3 separate regions of the Homo sapiens genome follow, and all the other regions are linked to region 1. Evidence: promoter capture Hi-C in human tissues and cell types (Jung and others, 2019). All regions are on one chromosome and are shown on one strand. The core of a region is centred on a gene start or on the middle of the fragment in contact, and the rest is flanking DNA. Distances in the headings are between cores, read along the strand shown.

The links. The method cuts DNA at HindIII sites, captures the fragments that hold promoters and counts their contacts. A contact is called where the count stands out against the background at its distance.
Region 2: a contact is called between a fragment that was not itself captured here and the fragment with the promoter of C1orf56 in region 1, in 1 of the 25 tissues and cell types used here (hippocampus).
Region 3: a fragment that was not itself captured here is called in contact with the fragment with the promoter of C1orf56 in region 1 in 1 of the 25 tissues and cell types used here (heart right ventricle).

The regions. Positions count from the first base shown.
Region 1 is chr1:151,046,353-151,050,491 of GRCh38, reverse strand. It overlaps C1orf56 (chromosome 1 open reading frame 56), which reads right to left and starts at 2,741. Exons shown (of 2, transcript NM_017860.5): 1 at 1,640-2,741; 2 at 1-54. The coding sequence starts at 2,644. The coding sequence ends at 34. BNIPL (BCL2 interacting protein like) reads right to left here. Exons shown (of 10, transcript NM_138278.4): 10 at 2,772-3,841. The coding sequence ends at 3,805. RefSeq lists enhancers at 1,844-2,083, 2,364-2,413. The HindIII fragment of the contact is 7,874 bases long and covers 1-4,139 here.
Region 2 is chr1:150,299,454-150,303,592 of GRCh38, reverse strand. All of the region lies in intron 2 of MRPS21 (mitochondrial ribosomal protein S21), which reads right to left. Among named protein-coding and RNA genes, the nearest start is that of MRPS21, 7.7 kb to the right of the region's middle. The HindIII fragment of the contact is 5,855 bases long and covers 1-4,139 here.
Region 3 is chr1:150,511,700-150,515,838 of GRCh38, reverse strand. ECM1 (extracellular matrix protein 1) reads right to left here. Exons shown (of 10, transcript NM_004425.4): 7 at 4,008-4,139; 8 at 3,267-3,487; 9 at 3,027-3,114; 10 at 2,050-2,602. The coding sequence ends at 2,372. It overlaps FALEC (focally amplified lncRNA regulator of ECM1), which reads right to left and starts at 87. Exons shown (of 6, transcript NR_186305.1): 1 at 1-87. RefSeq lists a silencer at 1-262 and enhancers at 353-502, 573-642. The HindIII fragment of the contact is 4,741 bases long and covers 519-4,139 here.

The sequences.
Region 1 (4,139 bases), core at 1,492-3,991:
TACTGACATCTCCTCATGTGGATGAAGTGGCCATTACCTCTGGTTTCTGTCTATCTGCGTAAGAAAAAAAAATAGAGAAAAAGGGAAATTACAACCACATCTATATTCTTTTCCCTTCCTTGCTTCATCTCCCCCTCCCACAAACCCATATTCCCTCAACCCTACTGCCCACCCCTTACTTATTTTTGTATGCAATAATGGTATTGGACACACAAGGAGAAAAACAGAAACAAGCAAAATGACCAAGTGTAAGCTTTATTACCTTTCCCTCCTCAAAGTCCTATCATCCGTATCAATTGAGACTACCTTATCAAGTCAATCAGAACCTTTGCTAATTCTGGGAAAAGCAGAGGACTATCCTTCCTTGTCCTGGAAGGACAGTACTCCCAAATGGTAGTGGTGAAGAGAGTGGGCACTGGTGTCAAACCTGGTTTAAATCTCGTGGCTCTGCCACTTACTAGCTTTGTAAACCTCAGTTTCTTCATCTGAAAAGCAGGGATAATAATACCTCATAGGATGTGAGGATCGATTCAGGTAAAGTGCACATAGTAAGACCTCAAATTTTGGCACTTGTTGCTGTTAAGCTGTATTAGGTCAAAACTATTAATTGATTAAGATCCTTCATATCTGTTAATTATCTGTGCATCAAAAAGACTTTATGGGCCGGGCACAGTGGCTCATGTCTGTAATCCCAGAATTCTGGAAGGCCAAGGTGGGCAGATCCTTGAGCTCAGGAGTTGGAGACCAGCCTGGGCAACATAGCGAGATCTTGTTAGCCAGGCATGGTGGTGCACGTCTGTAGTCCCAGCTATTCAGCAGGCTAAGGTGGGAGGATTGCTTGAGCCCAGAAGATGGAGGGTGCAGTGAGTTGTGACTGCGCCACCACACTCCAGCCTGAGTGATGAGAGACCCTGTCTCGAAAAAAAAGTCTTATGGTCAGGGGCACAGTAGCTCATGCCTGTAATCCCAGCACTTTGGAAGGCTGAGGCAGGAGAATTGCTTGAGCCCAGGAGTTTAAGACCAGCCTGGGCAACATAGCGAGATCTTGTCTGTGAAAAAAACAGAGAATTTCCAAGACCAGGCATGGTGGCTCATGCCTATAATCCCAGCACTTTGGGAGGCCGAGGCGGGTGGATCACTTGAGGTCAGGAGTTCTAGACCAGCCTGGCCAACATGGTAAAATGCTGTCTCTTCTAAAAAAAAAAAAAAAATTAGCCGGGCATGGTGGTGGGTGCCTGTAATCCCAGCTACTCAAGAGGCTGAGGCAGGAGAATTGTTTGAACCTGGGAGGCAGAGGTTGCAGTGAGCCAGGATCACGCCATTGCACTCCAGCCTCGGCAATAAGAGTGAAACTCTTGTCTTGAAAAAAAAAAATATTTCCAATCTTAACTATTTGGTCAATAATCACCTAATGAGCAGTAAGACATTTTACCTAATGACCAACCAGTAGTTGCTCAATAAATAATAGGTGGAATCAATGGCTAACAATGTGAATAACCAATGCATGTTATGAATCAATAACCAGGTAAGTCAGTAACAGTTCATGTAAGCAACACTGGCTGGCTTAGCAACTGGGTTTTAGATACCAGGACTTTTCAGATCCGTCAACAAAGACCCTGGCTCATCACCAAACACTTACTGGTTGCATCTCTGTGAACACTGAAGAGAGGCTATTCCAAATATCCTCCAGGCCAATCCTGACCCGTTTCCAAAAAGCCAGGGCTGGGCAGGGGCTGGCGGGTGGCAGGCTGGGACTGCTTCTGAGGTGGATGGTGGGGAAGGGGGTAGTGGTGGTCCTGGTACTGGTGGTGCTCTGAGAGGCACAGTTGGTGTCAGTACAGAGACTTGTGTCCAGGGGGCACTCTTCCCGAAGTCGGTTGCAGGGACATTGTTGATAGGTGCAAGGCTTGTGCTCCGTGCGGAGCTGGCTCAGCGCCCCAACTCGAAGGCGCCCGGAAAGGCCGTGCAGCTTCCCAGACCGGCTCCGGCTCATGGTGCCCGACTTGCAGTGGCAGTGCCACGGGCCCCAGGGCATCAGCACCAGCCGCAGATCCTCAGGAGATGGCATGGCTGTGGGTGAGGGTGACGGCCACCGGCTCGGGGTAGACCCAGGTGTGGACCACTGGCTCAGGGTGGCCTGCGAGCCTGGCAGGTCCTCAGTAGACCTCCCGGGGGAGCGCGGCAGGCTTGAAGTCAGCCTGATTTCAGGCTCCTGACTATTGGCTATAAACCTCGTGCTGGAACTCCCCGCTGTATTGGGAGTCGCACTGGGAAGCTCTCTGCTGGTGCTATCCTTTCCGGCATTAATCACAACCCCCTCTTCTGAAGACCCATCCTCCTCGTTAATGGCGGACGACCGGCTAAAGCCGGTGGACACCGTGGCGGCCAAGAGCTCGGCAGCCGCTGGTCCAGCCAGGCGGTCGGCGTCGGCCATGGCATCATTCTCGTCCTCTAGGATTATCCTTGTCTTCCGGGGAAGACCAGTCCGGGCGGTGCTCCGGTAGCTGCGGGTCATGGGGCCCCCAAAGCGTAAACTGACCCGCTGCATTTCGGTCGGAGTCTGGGTCAGGCCTTGGGCCCCCGCCGCCCGGGGACCCAGATTCAGCAGCAGGACCCACAGCAGCGCGCCGGCGGCGGGGACCATGGGGCTGGGCTCTTGGGGTTGGGAGGGTGGCCAGTGAGGCAAGCCCTGCCTCCTACCTTCGCTCCCTCCCTTCCGCTGTAGACCCACCGGGTCGTTTGAACCGAGGCCCGCGGGGAAGGGGGTGGGGTTCGACGCGCAGGCGCGCTCGCGCGGGCCGCGCGGGGTGCTCCTAAGGAACCTCTGCGGCAAGAACTCTGCCAGAACCGAAGGTTTGGGATGCAAGGGGTGGTGAAAGAGTCGTTCACTTCTTTGGAGCAGAGCTTAAATGTCTCATCGCAGTTTATTAGCCTCTACAGTTCTAAATTTACTAAAGAGGGCAAAAATACAGGTTTTGAAAGCACTCCTTCCCAGGCTCACAGGCAGCAGACATGACTTAGAAGGAAAAAGGGCATACAGCGGTTCTTCAAGATTTAATGAGCTGACTCTCCTGGCTCCCAGCAGGCAGGCTGGCTGTCAGGTAAGCCTCTTCCATCCAAGGTGGAAGGATCACAGTCCCTCCAGTTAGACAGGAGGAAAATTAGGACCCAAAAAGATGAAGTTATTTGCCCAAGGTTCTACAGCTAAAGTAGGATTAAAACCCAGAGCTCTGGCCGAGCGCGGTGGCTCACACCTGTAATCTCGGCACTTTGGGAGGCCGAGGCGGGCAGATCACGAGGTCAAGAGATCGAGACCATCCTGGCCAACATGGTGAAACCCCGTCTCTACTAAAAATACAAAACAATTAGCTGGGCGTGGTGGCGTGCGCCGGTAGTCTCAGCTACTCGCTGAGGCTGAGGCAGAAGAATGGCTTGAACCGGGAGGCGGAGGTTGCAGTGAGCCGAGATCGCACCACTGCACTCCAGCCTGGCGACAGAGCGAGACTCCGTCTCAAAAAACAAAAAACAAAAAAACCCAGAGCTCTGCATATCCCATACAAAATGACCCTACATTCAGCCTTCCGTCCCAGCAACTGGAATGAAAGTCACCCAGCAGATCAGTTTCCCAGCCTCAAAGCCCTGCTGAAAGTAGGGTCATGCAAAGGACAAAATCCCACTGAGAAGTGAAGATCCGGTGGTACTGAGGTTGGGGATAAGATGATTTACAAAACAGTTCAGATGTTTCAGGGATTCAGGTGTAGGCAGATCACTAACTGGTTCTAAGGCCTTTTATCCAGTCCTGTGCTATGTCCCTCCTGAGCCATGGAGATCCCGGTCCAGCCTAGGAGAGGGAGAGGGGGAGGAGAGAAGTGGTTCAGGGGGTAGGACTTGGGTTTTATTTTCTGGTTTGGGGAGAGAAGCCAGGTGAATTGGAAGAGCTAGATGATTGGGTTGAGTCATCATTTAGCACTTTTGCTCCCTAACACCCTCTCCCCCACTGGATATCATCTGTTCACTGCCAACACATCTCTTCCTAATTTCTAGGGCCAGTCTGAATCTCCTCTGCACTGTGATTATTCCTTTATTCCTTATTGCCTCTGCACTTATATGTATAGGTTTTTTTTTTTTTTCATTTATTC
Region 2 (4,139 bases), core at 1,210-3,709, 750 kb after region 1:
GTAAAGTGCTCTACAACAGTATTCTGCTTCTCAAACAAAAACCACCCATTTCAGAAGACAAACTGTTGCAGTATCCATGGGTAAAAGAGGGAGTGAAGAGCTGGGCTAGACTCTTCAATCAGAGTAAAGAGGAAATGGAAGCCGATAAGGGACACTTGGATAAAAGAATGATCTAAACATGTAAACATTTATTTCTGCTGAGACTTTGTGTTTAATACTGTCTAATGAAGGTTGCTTTTTGGACTAGAAAGTAGTATATTGGAGAAAATATAGAAAAAAGCCCCTGAAAGAAAAAGATTGGATATATAATGTAAAAAGTACAAGGAGACTGGATTTGAGAGAATATAAAAACGACAGAGACCCTGAGTAAATATGACCTAGGAAGACGAACCTATTGGAATGACAAAGACAGTTTAAAAGTAGGATGAAACAACACTGCAAGAGGAGGAAGGGGTTGAGTATGACTCAAGGAACCCTACTGGAGTTCCAAAAGGCTTCTAAAACAAAGGTGATCATCTTACCAAGGAAATGCCTGTACTGTCAGGCAAAAGGGCAAGACAAGGAAAAAGAATAACAAAAGAACATAAGAATGGTGAAGGGAAAAGAAAGAATATAATGATGGGGGTTGGTAAATGGCATTCCCTGGATGTACTACTTACTTCCAAAACACAGACCAAATAAATTCCAAGATGCCAGGTGAGGATTCCCTCCCTTACCCGACACGTTCTAGTCATACTAAAAAAGGCACAGATTATCTTCAAATGCCCCAGAGTCCCTATAGTAGAGGTATCTACTCAACTTTACCTCTAACAGAAAAGGATGCAAGAAAAGCTTTGTAAAACACAAGAATAGAGGGGGTGTTACTAATGATGCTTCCTTCTGCTTCCAAAAGTAGTTCAAGGACTAGTACATCAAGAGCTTTAGAGTAAACAGATCAGCCTGGAGTTCGGGCGCCTGGCAACCTAATACTGAAGGAGAAACCAGCTGCCAGTTTTAGTGAAATTCAAATGATTATGTAAAAGGAGCCAAGCTGCCTGGAGCGGGGGGAGGTGCGGGTGGCAGACTCACATGTCAGTGTAGCCAGTCTACGTCAGGACAGACGTGTATGCAGAAGGACTCAATGGACCCAGAAGGTAGCCCACTAGGAGTAAAAGGAGTCAACAGGGCATGCTTCCAGTGTACTCACCTTTCTTTGCTTGGGGGCCAGCCAATCATGCAGGGCTTCCTAGCAACCCCCACTCTCCACCTTCTCATCCCGGGGCACCAATGAGGGCCCCCAGTTATATAACAGGCATTTTGTGGTGGCCTCACTGGACAGACACGTAGGCTATTTCCTTTGTAAGACTCTCTCTGTACTCCAAACATGGTAAAGCTTTAATCACCTCCCTCTAGACTCATTTGCTCTCCTACCTATTGTTGTAATTAGACCACAGAACAAGCAAATTATTTTTAAACTACCAGCTATGAGAAAGCTGAAAGAGATCAGGAGAGGCCTGGAGTGTGAGAAAGATATACAGAAAAAGTGGCTAGAGAGAGGACATTTGGGAAAAGCAGAGAAAAAGAAGAAACAGAAAAGTGCATCAGTCAGAAAATGTGTTTAACAGGCAGCAGGAAAACAGAAGATTGGATCACTCCAAAATCAGTCTGCTCACGTATGCAAGCTTGAAAGTCCTTACCTAGAAAATTATTCTAAGAGGCCGGGCACGGTGGCTCACCCCTGTAATCCCAGCGCTTTGGGAGGCCGGGCGGGCCAATCATGAGGTCAGGAGTTTGAGACCAGCCTGGCCAACATCGTGAAACCCCGTCTCTACTACAAAAAATTAGCCGGACGTGGTGGCAGGTGCCTGTAATCCCAGCTACTCGGGAGGCTGAGGCAGGAGAATCACTTGAACCCGGGAGACAGAGGTTGCAGTGAGGCGAGACCACGCAGTCTGGGCAACAGAGAGAGACTCCGTATTAAAAAAAAAAGAAAGGAAAAAGAAAATTATTCTAAGACTGAAATATTTGTTCATTTCCCCCCTGCCCCGCGAAGCTATAATACAATTTATGGGACTCTGAGTCTATGGGACTTGAATTTCTTTTCCTTTTTTGAGACGAAGTCTCGCTCTCGTCCCCCAGGCTGGAGTGCAATGAATGGCGCGATCTCGGCTCACTGGAACCTCCGCCTCCTGGGTTCAAGCGATTCTCCTGCCTCAGCCTCCTGAGTAGCTGGGATTACAGGCACCTGCCACCATGTCCGGCTAATTTTTTTTCTTTTGAGACGAAGTCTCGCTCTCGTCCCCCAGGTTGGAGTGCAATGGCGCCATCTTGGCTCACTGCAAGCTCCGCCTCCCGGGTTCACGTCATTCTCCTGCCTCAGCCTCCCGAGTAGCTGGGACTATAGGCGCCCGCCACGGCGCCCAGCTAATTTTTTGTATTTTTAGTAGAGACGGGGTTTCACTGTGTTAGCCAGGATGGTCTCGATCTCCTGACCTCGTGATCCGCCCCCCTCAGCCTCCCAAAGTGCTGGGATTACAGGCATGAGCCACCGCGCCCGGCCAATTTTTGTATTTTTTTTAGTAGAGACAGGGTTTCATCATGTTGGCCAGGCTGGTCTTGAACTCCTGACCTCAGATGATCCACCCGCCTCGGCCTCCCAAAGTGCTGAGCTTACAGGGGTGAGCCACCGCGCCTGGCCAAATTTATTTTTCTAACCACTCCTCTTCTTTCTTAAAAAGAAAAGAATATAATTCTTTTCTTTTTAAGCAATGTAAATTGCTTTTTTCCAAATCCTACTCCTACTTTGGTGTTTTAATCCCTGAAGAAAAGGTAATACTGTGCTTCTTAACCAGGGTAATTAACAGAATGCCAAAGGATACAAGTTTCTGGACAAATTTGATGCATCTGCCTGGAGGCACCAATTTTAACTCGAAGGAGTGGGGGTGTTACCCATAAAACAGATGCAATGGCAACGAATACGAAGTTCACCTTACATTTTAATTTAGGGAAGCTTCAAAGAAATTCCATGTTTGCTTATAGTAGCAGAACCCCTATAGTTCATTCACTCTCCTCTGCTGTTAACGACACTTCAGTAAAAAAGTTTGACAAACATTAAATAAGTGACAAAAAAGATAAAGGAACATTTATGTTCATTAAGTAGACATTTAATGAGAGCTTTGGATGTGCCAGACACTTTGGTAAATCCAAGAGATACACAAATGAAAAAGCATAGGTTTCTGTCCTTAAGGAGGCTACAAGCCTTTTTTTTTTTGAGACAGGGTCTCACTTTGTCACCCAGGCTGGAGTGCAGTGGCGCGATCTCGGCTCACTGCAACCTCCAGCTCCCAGGTTCAAGCGATTCTCCTGCCTCAGCCTCCCGAATAGCTGGGATTACAGGTATGCACCATCATACCCGGCTAATTTTTATATTTTTAGTAGAGACGGGGTTTTACCATGTTGGCCAGGCTGGTCTTGAACTCCTAACCTCAAATGATCCGCCCCCCTCAGCCTCCCAAAGTGCTGGGATTACAGGCATGAGTCACTGTGCCCAGCCAGGAGGCTACAAGTCTATTATAATAATTTTCAATCCTGGTGAAATCTCATGGTATGTTTTTTAAAATGCTGCCATCCAGGTTGCAACCCCTGGAGATTCTGATTCATCTCAGATTGGGCCCTGGCATTAGTTTTGTTTTCTTGATGGTTCGTTCCCTAGGTGATCCTAATAGGCAGCCAGGGTTGAAACCACAGGGTGTCACACTGACCACTCTCCGGCTCTCTAATATTAACACTTCGACCCAGGAAATAGGTTTGTGTAAAATGCCAGTCACCAACAAAAAGAGAACCATAAAAGTAGTATGTGGGCTGGGTGTGGTGGCTCACACCTGTAATCCCAGCACTTTGGGAGACAGAGGCGGGTGGATCACCTGAGGTCAGGAGTTCGAGACCAGCCTGGCCAACATGGTGAAACCCCGTCTCTACTAAAAATACCAAAACTAGCCAGGCGTGGTGGCAAGTGCCTGTAATCCCAGCTACACGGGGGGCTGAGGCAGGAGAATCACTTGAACCTGGGAGGCGGAGGTTGCAGTGAGCCGAGATCATGCCACTGCACTCCAGCTTGGGGGACAAGAGCGAGACATCGTCTCAAACAAACAAACAAACAA
Region 3 (4,139 bases), core at 1,640-4,139, 530 kb after region 1:
CGGGGGGTAGGGGAATTGCTGGGCCGGCCTTTTCCCCCTGCCTCCCCCGGTTCCTCTGTCCTGGAGGCCGTAGGAGATGCGCAGGACGCCCGCACATGCGCAGTGTCACTCTCGAGCTCCAGACTCGAGCGCGGCGGGCAGGAGGCCCAGGCGGCCCCGGGCTCCCGAGACTGGGCTGCCGGCTCAGGGGCGGGGCACAGCGCTGCCCTCGCCCGCTCATTGGCTCGCGTGCTGACGGACAGGTGGGGCGGACAGCCGGCGAAAGATCTGAGGAGCCGCTGGACTGGAAACTGCTACTGGGCTAAAAATACTTAAGTAAATAAATGAAAGCCTGTGGAGGAGGAGAGGAAGGAGAGGCGGGCGTGGGTTTGGGAGCAACTGAGGCTCCGCTTGCCCCTGGCTGGCGCAGGATGATGGTTCTTGGTTCACTCTCTCCGTCTCCGCTAGAACTGGAGCGGAGAAGTCTGCTTTCTGGAAGGTCGTCCTGGCGGCGGAGTCACACAGGACTTGTTCCCCTGGGACTCTTCATTCCGAGTCTTCATTCCGATTCTTTCAGATCCAGCCTTGAGGCCTCGGGTTCCTGGGAGCAGCTTTGTAGGGCTTGAGAGTCCTAGTCACCGCCACCCTCGGGTCCAGCTCAGGTTGGGGGCTACAGCTCCGTCCCTCCGGCACTTGGGACGACACTCTTTGAACTGGCCTCCCAGCGTCCCGCCTTGCTGGCTGCCGACTAAACTTTTTTTTTTCTTTTTGAGACTGGGTCTCGCAGGTTGAAGTGCAGTGCCGAGACCATAGCTCTTTGGGTGGCTGGGATTACAGGCGCGCGCCACCTCCCCGGCTCTCCGACTAGACATTATTTTATTTTATTTTATTTTTGAGGCACAGTCTCGCTGTGTCGGCCAGGCTGAGTGCAGTGGTGCGATACTGGCTCACTGCAACCTCCACCTCCCAGGTTCAAGTGATTCTCGTGCCTCAGCCTCCCGAGTAGTTTGGATTATAGGTGGGCACCACCACGCCTGGCTAATTCAGTAAAGATGGGGTTTCACCATGTTGGTCGGGCTGATCTCGAACTCCTAACCTCAAGTGATCCGCCCGCCTCGGCCTTCCAAAATGCTGGGATTACAGCGTGAGCCAGTGCGTCCGGCCTAGACATTCTTAAAAGGCAAATTGGAACACATCCTCCGCTTGAAAACGCCAGTGCCCCCTGGGCCAGGGCACCAAGATCCACTTAAAACCCTGCGGGTGAGGCATTAGTGATGAGCTCCTGCTTATCATTCCAGCCATATCAGAGAGGAAGGCCACCAAAGAGTCAGGTCCTTTCAGCCTTGACCCTTGTGCGCACTCTGCCCGCTCACACCCTCTACTTCTTTACTGGAGAAACTCTGACCTCAACGCCCCTCCTGTGCACCTGTGCTGCCCCCAGCCCCACTCCCACCTCGGGACGTTCCTGTCATGCTCAGAGCACGCTGGGGGCCCTGTACCACAACACTTGTCACACCTGCTAGGCTCAGGGACAGTGAACAACCTCAGGGCAGGGGCTGTGTGTGTTCTGGATGTGTATCCCCAAGTCTAGCAGAGTGTGCATAGATAGGGGTTCAATAAATGGATATTGGCCAGGCACAGTGGCTCACGCCTGTAATCCCAGCACTTTGGGAGCCTGGCCAACATGGTGAAAACCCGTCTCTACTAAAAATACAAAAATTAGCTGGGTGTGCTGGTGCACGCCTGTAATCCCAGCTACTCGGGAGGCTGAGGCAGGAGAATCGCTTGAACCCAGGAGGGTTGCAAGTTGCAGTGAGCCAAGATCGTGCCACTGCACTTCAGCCTGGGCGATAGAGCGAGACTGTGTCTCAAGAAAAAAAAAAAAAGGATATTGAATGAATGAAGGCATGAATTCTAAGGATCAAAAGTGAAGCTTTAAAAATGTTAGGCTGGGCTGTGGCATTTTGGGGGCTCACCAAGGCCAAGAACCATATCTTCTTTGAGTCCTGATAGCTAGCTAACAAGGTGGCACTCCTTTCAAAATATGTGAATAAATTCAAGATGGCAAAGTGACGTCAAGCTGTTTAGTTATGGTCGCATCCCACAGCCTGTGAACATCTGCTCAGTGAAGGGGGCAGGGCCGTGGGCCTCAGGGGCCAGGCACTGAAGGAAATACAAGCAGGCTTAGGAGGGTGTGTTTGTCTGTGGTGTGTCTGAAAACGCCAGTGCCCTCCTGGGCCAGGGCACCAAGATCCACTTAAAACACTGCGGGTGAGACATTAGATAGACAATGAGGACACCAAATCCAAGAGGTGTTTAGTGTAATGAGTGTTCAGATGGGTGGGGCAGGGTGGGGTTCCCCCCATCTGACCCTCTAGGGCTCTGGGGTGACTCATTCTTCCTTGGGCTCAGAGGTGGAGCTGATATTTGTTCCTCCAGTTGAGCCCTGCTCCCCCTGGCCCTTGGCGTTCTCAGTGTCTCCAGACACTAGAGCCACGTTCCTCAGATAATTGATGTTGAAGCAGTTGACCTGTTCATCCCCAGGACTCAGGTAACAGCAGAGGGCAGGGTCTCGCCAGATGTTACGTCGGGGACCACACAGATCATTGATGAAGGTTAATTTCTGATGAATGAGAAAAGTAAAACAGATGATGGGGTGGGGAGGTGGTCCAAGGACAGATGTAGATACTTGGGTGCCAAAGTCCCCCTTTCATCAGCTTCTACTGCTCTCTCCCTCGTTCCCCTCCTGGGGCCCAGAGAGAGTACAAGACTGCCTTGCACAGCTGGATTCCTTGTGACTGACAAATGTGTACATCTGGAAATGCCAGAAGCTTGTGGCCCGGAGAAGGCATAATAGGAACTTAGAGATGGGGAGCAGGCCAGGTCAGAGTGAAGACTTTTCTGGAACCAAGAAAAAAACACCTCCCCCACTAGTCATTATAACCAAAGGCTGGTTTGAGGTACTAAAGAGAAGGGGTGGCCTGCAGTTCTAGCTCTTTCCCTCCCCTCCCCTGCATTCCTCTGGAGACTAGACTCCACACACTCACCTCCTCCTCTGCACAGCAGGCCTGTTCTGGAAATGGCAGGTCACAGCAGCGGGCAGTCATGTTGTGGATCAGCCCAGGAATATGTTTACTATGTTGGTGTGAAAGGGGCAGGGGTTAGGGTCTTTGGGCATCTTCTGGCATCAGATGGGGTTGGGATATCATGATTTTGCTTTTCCCAAAGGTGTCCCAAAAGGAAGTTTTCGGGAAAGGAAGAGAGTGGGGAAGGACTAGGCAACTTACTGCTTGGTGAGAACTCTTTGGTTTCCACAGAGGTGGCCCATGAGGTTGGGGGTGACTCGACCGATGTCAATGGTCAAGATGTCCCGGTCATAGTTGGGGTAAGGAGCCCGACGGGCAAAGCACTCATCCCGAGTAGGGCTGGGAGGGTGGCGGCAACACAAGTGGTGGTGGGTCTTCACAGCATACTCCCGGTCACAGTATTTGTCAAGGGTATCCTCCCACTGTGGACCAGAGAGAGGGAAGTCAGAAGCTGGACACTTGGCCCCTTCTCTCCTGACCATCGACTTCCCTTATCGTCCCTGGCAACTAGATGAGGGGCTCCCAGCCCGAGAGGCCCAAAGGGAATGGCAAAAAAGTAGAGGGTTAGGAGGCAACTGTTGATGTGTGGGCTTGGGAAGGTGGACGGGTGGAAGCCTGGATGAGGTTCCAAGCTGGTGCCGGGAGATGAGCTGGAACAGTGGATGGAGAAGGTCAGGTGAGGCCAGAGCTGGACGGATGGATGGATGGTAGACAGATGCGTGTGTGGATCATGAGTGGAGGAGGCCAGAAGTGTAGTACGAAGCTCAAGATGAACAAACTCAGGTGACAAACACAATGGATGGACGGACAGCCACAAGCAGATGAACGGGTGGACGCACTCACAGCAGGGGGGGTACATGGATGGATGGACTGGCAGGATCAGAGGTCGAAGATGGGCAGGCAGGCAAACAGGCTCTCAGGGAGGCTGGGACGCCCACTTACGGCCTTCCATGTACAGGTGTGATTGTTCCCCTGGCGGCAGCAGCGCTGGAACTCCCTCTCCAGCTGGATCAGTGCCAGCAGCTCCCTTTGTAGGGGGTCAGTAGCTGGCAGGTTGCGTGGCACAGAGCGGAA